2 separate regions of the Homo sapiens genome follow, and region 2 is linked to region 1. Evidence: promoter capture Hi-C in human tissues and cell types (Jung and others, 2019). All regions are on one chromosome and are shown on one strand. Each heading gives the region's core, a stretch centred on a gene start or on the middle of the fragment in contact. The rest is flanking DNA. Distances are from core to core; before and after follow the strand shown.

The links. The method cuts DNA at HindIII sites, captures the fragments that hold promoters and counts their contacts. A contact is called where the count stands out against the background at its distance.
Region 2: a fragment that was not itself captured here is called in contact with the fragment with the promoter of CDH5 in region 1 in 2 of the 25 tissues and cell types used here (dorsolateral prefrontal cortex and lymphoblastoid cells).

Annotation. Positions count from the first base shown.
Region 1 is chr16:66,364,101-66,368,493 of GRCh38, reverse strand. It overlaps CDH5 (cadherin 5), which reads right to left and starts at 1,803. Exons shown (of 12, transcript NM_001795.5): 1 at 1,736-1,803. It overlaps LOC105371318 (a long non-coding RNA gene), which reads left to right. Exons shown (of 3, transcript XR_933687.3): 3 at 3,567-4,314. RefSeq lists enhancers at 1-550, 1,361-1,910. The HindIII fragment of the contact is 33,771 bases long and covers 1-4,393 here.
Region 2 is chr16:65,490,493-65,495,099 of GRCh38, reverse strand. All of the region lies in intron 2 of LINC00922 (long intergenic non-protein coding RNA 922), which reads left to right. Among named protein-coding and RNA genes, the nearest start is that of LINC00922, 84 kb to the left of the region's middle. The HindIII fragment of the contact is 6,107 bases long and covers 1-4,607 here.

The DNA of each region.
Region 1 (4,393 bases), core at 554-3,053:
GCCCCTGCTGGCTTCCTGCCCTCATGTCCGGCCCTTGTTTGGCAACACAATAGCTCAGGCTGAGGCTGCAGGCGGGCAGCTTAACCCCTTCCAGGCCAGTATACACCTCCCCTACCCCTCACCACCATAAGCTGAAATTGGTAGGGCTGCTCAGGGGCTCAGCAGCTCTTGGGCCCCTTGGTGGATACCTGCTGCTCTCTAGGGCAGGCAGAGGAGAGTCCCAGGCTTCCCACCACCTGAGGATGGACCAGGGCTTCTGGCCCTGGCTCCAGTGGCCTGTGGCAAAAGAGCCTTCCAGGTACACCCTCGACTCCTCAAAGCTGCCTCCCTGGGAATGCCCTTCCTCTCTTGTCAGAATCCTATCTGCCCATCACACATGAGAAACGTCCACGCTGGGGAGGGAGCCTGACATGGAGCAGAGGCCCAGAGGTGCTCGCGATGTCCTCTCACTTGCACCCCCTTCCTCGTACCTGCTGGGCACCTGAGGACCCCTCCGTGATGGGGTTTGACCATACCTCAAGGGCCAAAATCTTTATCACATTCACAACCAGGATCGGCTCTGTGCTAGCTGGTAAATCCAGCCACTATTCCTTAAAGATCTCATGTTATGTGCCATTCCCAGCACCAGGGATGTAGCTCACTTCACTCAATTGACTGAGGAAACACTGTTTCCCCATTTCACAGATGAGACACTTGAGACCTGGGGAGAGCTGGGGCTTTGGAGTACGAGATCCTGGTTCAAATCCCCACACCAGCTCATATGTTTCCAAAGCTCAGTTGCTTTCACTGAGATATAAAGAAAGAATGTATCTACCTTGTGGAGTTGTTAATGGTAAAATAATGAGCCCCACACCATCCCTTGTTCCCCACTGTGGTTTGGAAACTCTGGGTAACTTTCCCAAGGTCACCCCAGAGCAAATGGGAGAGCTGGGATCTGTACCCAGGGCAGCTGTCTCCAGGCCAGGCTCTTGGCCCAGACCTCCTGCTTCTGGGGGACTTCCTGGGCTGTGGGGGCCTTGGGGCTCTTATGCTCTAGCCTTTGAAAGGGTGCTGGTGGGAGGAATGGTGGACCGCTGTCCAGACTACAGCTCCCTTGACACATAGTGGGCCCCGATGGTGTTTGGGCAGGGAAAGGCCCAGAGGGAAAGGCAAGACCTCAAGTGCCCAGAGCCAAGCCTCAGCTTGCCTATCCTGAAATGGGGGCACTGGCTGACCGAGAGGGGCCAAGGCTCGGAGCTTCCTTTTCAGGGCCCCTCCCCAGATCCCAGCATAGAGCTTTAGTGGCGTATGGGTAGGGGGCTGAGGAGGCTGGTGTCAGGCCTTGGTAAATCCTCTCCAGTAAGGGTAAGGCACCGAGGGGAGGCCAAGGCCTGGGTGCCAGTCCTCTGCCCCGGCATGCTGGGCAACTGGGGCAGAATACTGCCCTCTCTGAGCCTGGCACTGATGAAGGCCAGTGGGCCTTTTTGAGTTGGAGAATACACTTCTGGGAGAGCCAAGCCCTTGCCCTGCCCCCCTCAGCCCCGAGATGCCCATTTGTGCCCTTGGCACTACCTCTGGGTGCACCTTCCCCGACCCTGCTCTGAGCCACGAGGAGGCCCAGCGTGCCCTCGAGGAGCCTCTCTGTCATGGGAGTGGGACGATGCCCATTCTACAGATGGGGAAGCTGAGGACCCTCCCATCTTGGGCGCAGGGTGGCGGGTTTGGGGTGGAGGGGAGTGTGGGAGCCCCCACTCACCGTGCCTGTGGGCTGAGGGATGTTTCTGTTCCGTTGGACTGCCTGTCCGTCCAGGGCTGAGCGTGAGTGGAGCTCTGTGGAGCCTGTCAGCCGACCGTCTTTGGAGGGGAGCCACACCCCGCTGGCGAGGGAGGCCTGGCTGCCTCCCCTTCAGGTTTTCCAGCTGGCCCTGGCCCACTTCCCCCTGGGATGGTTTCCTGTTATTGTTCCTTTGTGAGGGCTGGGCTGGCTGCAGATAGGCAGGCCCTGCGGTGGGCGGCTGCCTCGGCCCCGGATGGCTGTCTCCACAGAGGGCTGGCACTGGACCCTGCCTGGGGCACCCCACTTGAACCCCTACTCCCGGCCTCAGCTCTGGGACTCTGAACCCAGCACCTGCAAAGAGCCTGGCTGTGGGGACCCTTGGCTGCAGCATCACATTTAACCCTCCTTGGAATGCTACAGGCAGGTGTCATCACCCCCATTTTATAGCCCGGGAAGCTGAGGCTCAGCGGGTTTAAGGTGCTTGTCCACCCAGCTGGGGTATAAAAGAGCCAAAAATCTAGCTGGGGTCAGCCTAGCCCCAGAGCTTGATTTTCTGTGGTGATCCCATGATGTCTTTGTGGGAATGGACTTTAAAGGTGACAGGGAGGCTTCAGGAGATGGGAAAGGGACAGAAGCTCTTGGCTCTGGAGGACCAGGTTGGCTTCTCCTGGTCAGAGCGGGCATGGACTCCAGCTCTAAGGTGCCAGCCTCGGTCTGTAGGGGATGTTTGCATTTAGGGATATTGGGTGGAGTCAAGTGACCCAGCTCTGCTTCTGATGTGACCTCTGGCCAGTTGTGTCATCCTGGAGCCACAGTTTCCTCATCTGTAAAATGGGGATAATCACAGCCTCATCCTCACAAGGCTTTTGACATAAACGAGAATCAAAGAGGGGCGTGGAAGACAGTGACGCTGAGGCTGGATCAGAGCCCAGAAGAACCAAGAGGCTGGGGGGAAGGGAGGGGCCAAGATTCTGCTGACCAGGAGAGACATAGGAGGAGCTTCTAAAAACTACAGAGGACTGGGCTCACCCCAGATCAACTGATTTGGAATCTCCCAGGGCAGATCCTGGGAATCTGTCCTTTGAAGAGTTGCTTCTGTTTTTCCATGGGTGAATGGTTGGGAAGTCCCAAACTTGTTTTATTATATAGCTGGGCAAGCAGAGACCCTGAGAAAGAGAGGGCCCAGGGCCGTTTAGTAAATCAGAGCACAAGATGGGGAGTGTGATGGAAGGATATTTTTGGAGGAGGAGGGGATAGTGATTCCTCTGTCTCAGGCAGGTTGAGTTTGAGATGCTCGTTAGATACCCAGGTGGAGGTGTCAGGCTGGTGGGGGAGACAGGGGTGAGTCCAGCCTGGAGTCGAGGTTTGGAACCCAACAGCTTATGGCTGGCATCTGAGGCCATGGGCATGGATGAGCTTGGAGGGAGGGAGGACTTGGACCCTCTGACATTTGGGGATCCATTAGAAGAGGGTCCCATGATGAAGGAGGAATGCCAGGAGAGGGCAGAGGAGGAGGGCAGGGGAGTAGTCAGTGGGTCAGCCTGGGGAGCATGAGGGCTGAGACTTAACTTTGGATTTGGAAGATGAGGTCATCAATGACTGTGACCAGAACAGGTTAAACAGGAAAAGGTAGACAAGACAGATTGGAGGGGCTAGAGAAAGGGGAGAAAGGGGGACGGGGATGTGGAGTCACGTGTGACTGTAGCTTCTTCCCCAAGTCTTACAGTGAATGGGAGCAGAGAAGTGGGAGGGTTTTTTTTTTTTTTTTTTTTTTTTTTTTTTAACTATGGCAGCACGCTCATGTCCCCAGGGAGCATCCAGCAGACGGGAAGACAGATGATGCTGGAGACTGAGGAGCGACCTGCTGGAAGGAGAACAGTCCTTGGGGCGGAATTCTGAGTGGGATCCAACACATTCAACAGCCGATTGTGGAATGAACAAACAACAGCTCAGCGCTTCCTTCTCCAATGGGATTAACTCTGCTTTCTCCTGCCCAGAGGGGGGGTTGGCCGCAGAGGAGCCAGGACAGTGCTCTGTCCCCTGTGTTCCAGTCCACATCCCCCTCACCCCCGCCTGTCCTCATGGTCTACGTGCCCATGGGGATACACTGGCCTGTGCATTGCTTCCTGCTGGGTCTCAGACTCGGGGCTGTGGCAGATGGGGACAGGGCCTGTCCTGGCACCATCTGCCAATTCCCTTTGTACTCCCAGTCCATGAGGAAGTTGACTCTGCCCTGAAAACGACTGTTCCTGTGGTCCATAAACAAAGGAATGGTGAGCCAGGCATGAGCTGTGGGCCCCAGGGGTGGGGCTGGGGGTCACCGTAGCAGAGGTAGCTGAGACTGTGGGAGGGAGGCTGGTGCCTCCTTGGTCCCCCTGAGGATTTCATGCCTGATTTCTGGCACTGCCCAGCCTCTGCTCCAACCTCTCTGGAGGCAAAGGAGGTAACAGGAGGGCACAAGGCCAGGAAGTGTCATTGGGAGCAAGGAAGGCGGCTGGTGGGCTAGCAGGAAATGGGATGGTCTGTGAGACCAGATTAGTAGCAGAGGAGGAAGCAACAGTGGAGGCAGTGGGGGTGGGATGGCGGGTGGGACGACAAGGCCTGGGGACGCCCACCTGGCCTCTGCCAGGAGGAAGC
Region 2 (4,607 bases), core at 1,713-4,212, 870 kb after region 1:
ACTTCTACATAATTCTCTTTTGTTTGGTTCCCGGTCTTTGACTTTACAGTTTTACTCGGGGGATAATATAGAACTAAAGCTCCAAACAAGTCTTTCCTCTATATTCTCTCCTTGGGGCCAGTGTTTGCAAATGAAACATTTTCTATAAACAGGGCAGATGGGGAATGGACTCATAAACACCTCAGCTACAAGGGCTGCGTGGAGTGGAAGAATAATCCAATGACTTTGGGGGAGTGAGCCCAGGGTTTGAGAGCTGACTTTTAGTATTTGCTTATTTAGTCTTTAGTATTTGCTGACTGTTAGTATTTAGCTGTCATTTAGTATTTGTGTGGCTGTAGGCCAATCATTACCTTTCTGTATTTCAGTTTCCTTAACTGTAAAACAGGAACCATGCAGGGCTGCTTGTGAAGACCCAAGAGTAGTTGAACACATAGTGATTCTTGAGCAATGTGCCCATAGGAAACTCTGCTGTTATCACTTCTCCTTCACTTTGAGTCAGATCACATTTTCTTTTAAGAGGGTCATTGGCTGACTGACATCCACAGGCAGGTAAACAACAGGGTGAAGAGGCTAAAACTTATATCAGCGTCTTATAACAAACAGTTAAAGAAAAGTGGGTGATGAGTTTTGAGAGAAGAGGGCTTAGGAAAGGAGTAAACACAACCATCTTCCATATAGAAAATTGAGGTCATTTGCTTTTTTTTACTTCTGACAAGCCCAGTAAAGGGTGAGCCATTATTTGAAGGCATATGTTAAGAGCTAACTACTCAGTCTACTCACAGAACAGGCTGCCTTGTAGACTGAGCTTACTTTTGCTGAAGATAGATAAACATAAGCAGTGCAGTGGGGGGTCCCAGCAGGAGTTAGAGAGAGAGCTGAATGGTATCAAAAGATGTTTCTTACTCTCAAAAGCTAAGTCTTTCTCATGAGAGATGTCAATTCCTTTTTCGTAATGTTGACCATCATAAAAATTTATCCTTATCTACATTATCTAGACTCCTGTAGAAAGGGAAGAAGGCTCTACCACTTACTGAATATACTATTCTACATACCAGGCACTGAATATTTGTGTTATTTCATCTTCATATACCTAATCTAGGACCAGGTGTACATAGGAAACAATCATCGAATATCTGTCACAAAAATAAAGGAATGAATGAATGACCTAAATGCATTATTATGTACATTTTGCAAATGAGAAGAATGGCTTATAACAAGAGGTGACCATTTAGATTGGTCTTAAAAAACATGCCTATAATTTTAAAACATCTTTGAAGAGGAGTTTTTACCAGCAAGATTCAGAAGTCAAATTTTCTTTCTTCTGAATGGAGAGTCAGAGCTGCAAAATCAGCAGTTTAGAGAATCCTGCTGTTTATCAAAAGTTAGAATGTCAGCCATCAGCAGACAGGACAAGTGCACTAATGAAAATGTATGGCTCTTCATTATTAGGCCAATTTACACAATGCAATTGGAATTGAGTAAGTTGTAGCAGCTACAAGATCTGTTTAAAACACGGGGGTTGATTTTAATGTTACAATTACCATAAATCTTTAACATTTTATGTTTACAAATAGACCTCAGAAAAAGGAAGCCTCTAGTAGGTATATTGCTAATGTCTCTGTAAGTAATTAAGAAAAAAGGCACCTAGACCAGATGCTAAACAAAATCCATAAGTTGATTTTCAATTTCCCAGAACTAGGAGAAAGTTTATTAAGCTCCAGTTGGTCTCCTCCATCATGCCAAAGAACAGGGCCCCCACCAGACTGATCCTTTAAGCTGCTGCTTTCAGAAGGGTCTCTATTCTTAGAAGTCTACTCCGGTGATGATTCCAGGAATTACTCTCCAACAAACTTCAGGTTAAAACTCCTGAGGCCTGTAGCCAGATTAGAAACAGATGCACCCTTCCTTTGTCCCAAGTTTAGCCACGCAGGAGTGAACATGGTCCCACACGTATGACATTGTTCAAGCAGGAGACTGTTAACTTACCCCCAAACCATTTTCTTTCTTCAAGGCCAGTTAATTTTGCATATACCATACCAATGGAGAGTGAGGAGGGTGTTAAAAAAAAAAAAAAGAAAAAGAAAAAGAACAAAGAAAGTAGAAGGCAGTTGATGATGAAAATGAACTTTATTTATTTATTTATTTATTTATTTATTTATTTATTTATTGAGATGGAGTCTCTCTCTGTCGCCCAGGCTGGAGTGCAGTGGCGCCATCTCAGCTCACTGCAAGCTCCACCTCCCGGGTTCACGCCATTCTCCTGACTCAGCCTCCCAAGTAGCTGGGACTACAGGTGCCCCCCACCGCGCCTGGCTAATTTTTTGTATTTTTAGTAGAGGTGGGGTTTCACCTTGTTAGCCAGGATGGTTTCGATCTCCTGACCTCATGATCCACCCGCCTCGGCCTCCCAGAGTGCTGGGATTACAGGCGTGAGCCATCGCACCCAGCCCAACTTTCATTGTTTTTTTAGTGAATGTGTGTGCAGCAATTTGGACATTAGATTGGAAAGTTGAAAGTGAATTGGAAAAAAGGTTTTTTTTTTTTAAATCATTGATGAATTTACTGAGTTGTGCAAATGTGCAGTTTCTAATTGGTATGTTGAGTGCCTTTCAACAGTCAGTGGTAAAGTTGGGAGTAAAACCCCGGTGACTCTCTGTCTTGTTGAATTTCTCCAGTCTGATAATCCACCACAAAAGTTTGCATTTTTCTTGAACATCCCAAAAAGGCATTTTGTACATTTGACTGCTGTCCTCATTGACCTAGGAATTCCTAGCAGGAAATTAAAGAAGATTAAGGAATTAAGAAAGGGTTGTTGTTTTGTGTGTGTGTGTGTGTGTGTGTGTGTGTGTGTGTGTGTGTGTGTGGTGTGGCAGGAGGGGCTCCATTGGTTTGTATTGTTTAATCCTTAACAGGAAATTAAAGAGGATTAAAGGTTTTCTGCCTGCCTGCATGGGAGGGAGGGGTGGAAGGGTCTATTTACATTGTTTTTCTCATTTATTTTTTCAACAATATTCATGAGCACACTTGCCCTGGAAGTGTGTCCCATGCCCTGGAATTAAACCCTAAGAATATAAAAATGAATAAGACAAGTATGTTTTCTTTTTGAAGGAAGTTAGAATCTCTTTGAGGATATAGACCATACATACAAGTCACCATGAATGTACATAACATGATTATACATTGCAATTATGACTTGTCCTATACAGTATATGAAATGAGTAGTCAATGAATTGTCTTTTTTTTTTTTTTTTTTTTTGATGAGATCTCATGATTCTCCTGTCTCAGCCTCCCAAGTAGCTGGGATTACAGGTCACCATACTGGCACAAACTGTCATTTCTTGATATTAAAGAAGTACTTTGCATTTACCTAAGTATTAATATGTGTGAGAAGACCCTGTGTGATGAAATTGAGAGCTTGAAATACAACCCTATGAACAAAAGTCTAGGGAAGAAAGTTGATAGTGCTGTGCAAATGCAGATGAAGGAATGTTCAATTCTTGCGGACAGAATTTAAGGCACTTTCTGGAGGAGGTGGCATTGGATTGAATCTTGAAAGATTGGCAGGTGCTAGCCAAATGTGAGTGCAAATATGACTAGAGGCAATTCTTGGTAGAGTGGGTGGCATGGGCAGAAATGTAGTGTTAGGAAAGGAGAGTGAAATATTAGGAAACCCAGAGAAATTTGGTCTGATGGTGTCAGTATCAAGGGGTGCTGGAGCATTGCGATGGGGTGAGATGACCCTGCCTTGGCTCACAAACAGGGTGAGTTGGAGCCATTTAATTAAAAACTTAGGAGTATGAACTTTATATTCTAGGTGATGGGGCTCCCAAATGTTCATACGTAGCCAAGCCCCCCATTTATCAGAAATAAAGGACATGGGGTGACTCTTCAGGTTCCAGATTCAGAATTGGAGTGAACTGTAAAGGTGATTAGAAGTTGTTATCAAAAATCTTCATAACTTGGTCCTGGTTGCCTTGATAGCCCAATTCCTCACTATTATGTCCCTTGCTACCAGATAAAAATGACACCAGATTTTCTTCACTGCACTGTCGTTGCTCCCTGGATCTTTGTGTATTCTGGAACACGTGCCTGGGACACACTTTTGCCTCTATATCTGGCTCTTCATTTATCCTTCAGGTTTCAGTTGAGACGAACTTTCTTCCACACAGTGTTATTTTATTCAGCAAATCTGAGTTAAGATCCCTTTTTCGGGCTCCTCCAGCCCTTGGTGTTTCTCCAGTGAGGACATGTGTCACACTCCGTGGCATTGCTTGTTTAGTATCTGCAGTCTTTTCCATCATATACACAAATAAGTTGGCTGCAAACTCCTAAGCACATTGACCCCGTGAATAAATAAATGGGACATTCTAGTTGGCTAATGTTCCAAGAGTCACAGAATATGGTTAAAAATAGACTTAGTTTTATTTTTAAAAATTACTTGCGTATTGATTAGGGTGAAAGACATGAGCAGTCTTGTTAAGACACTTAAACACACATGAGACAGACATGTGAGGTCTGTCTTTGGTGACAGAGGCATGGCAGTGTGGCCGTCTTTTTTTAAAACTTCACCTGCTTTCTTATGCCAAGATGGTAACAGCTGTAGGACC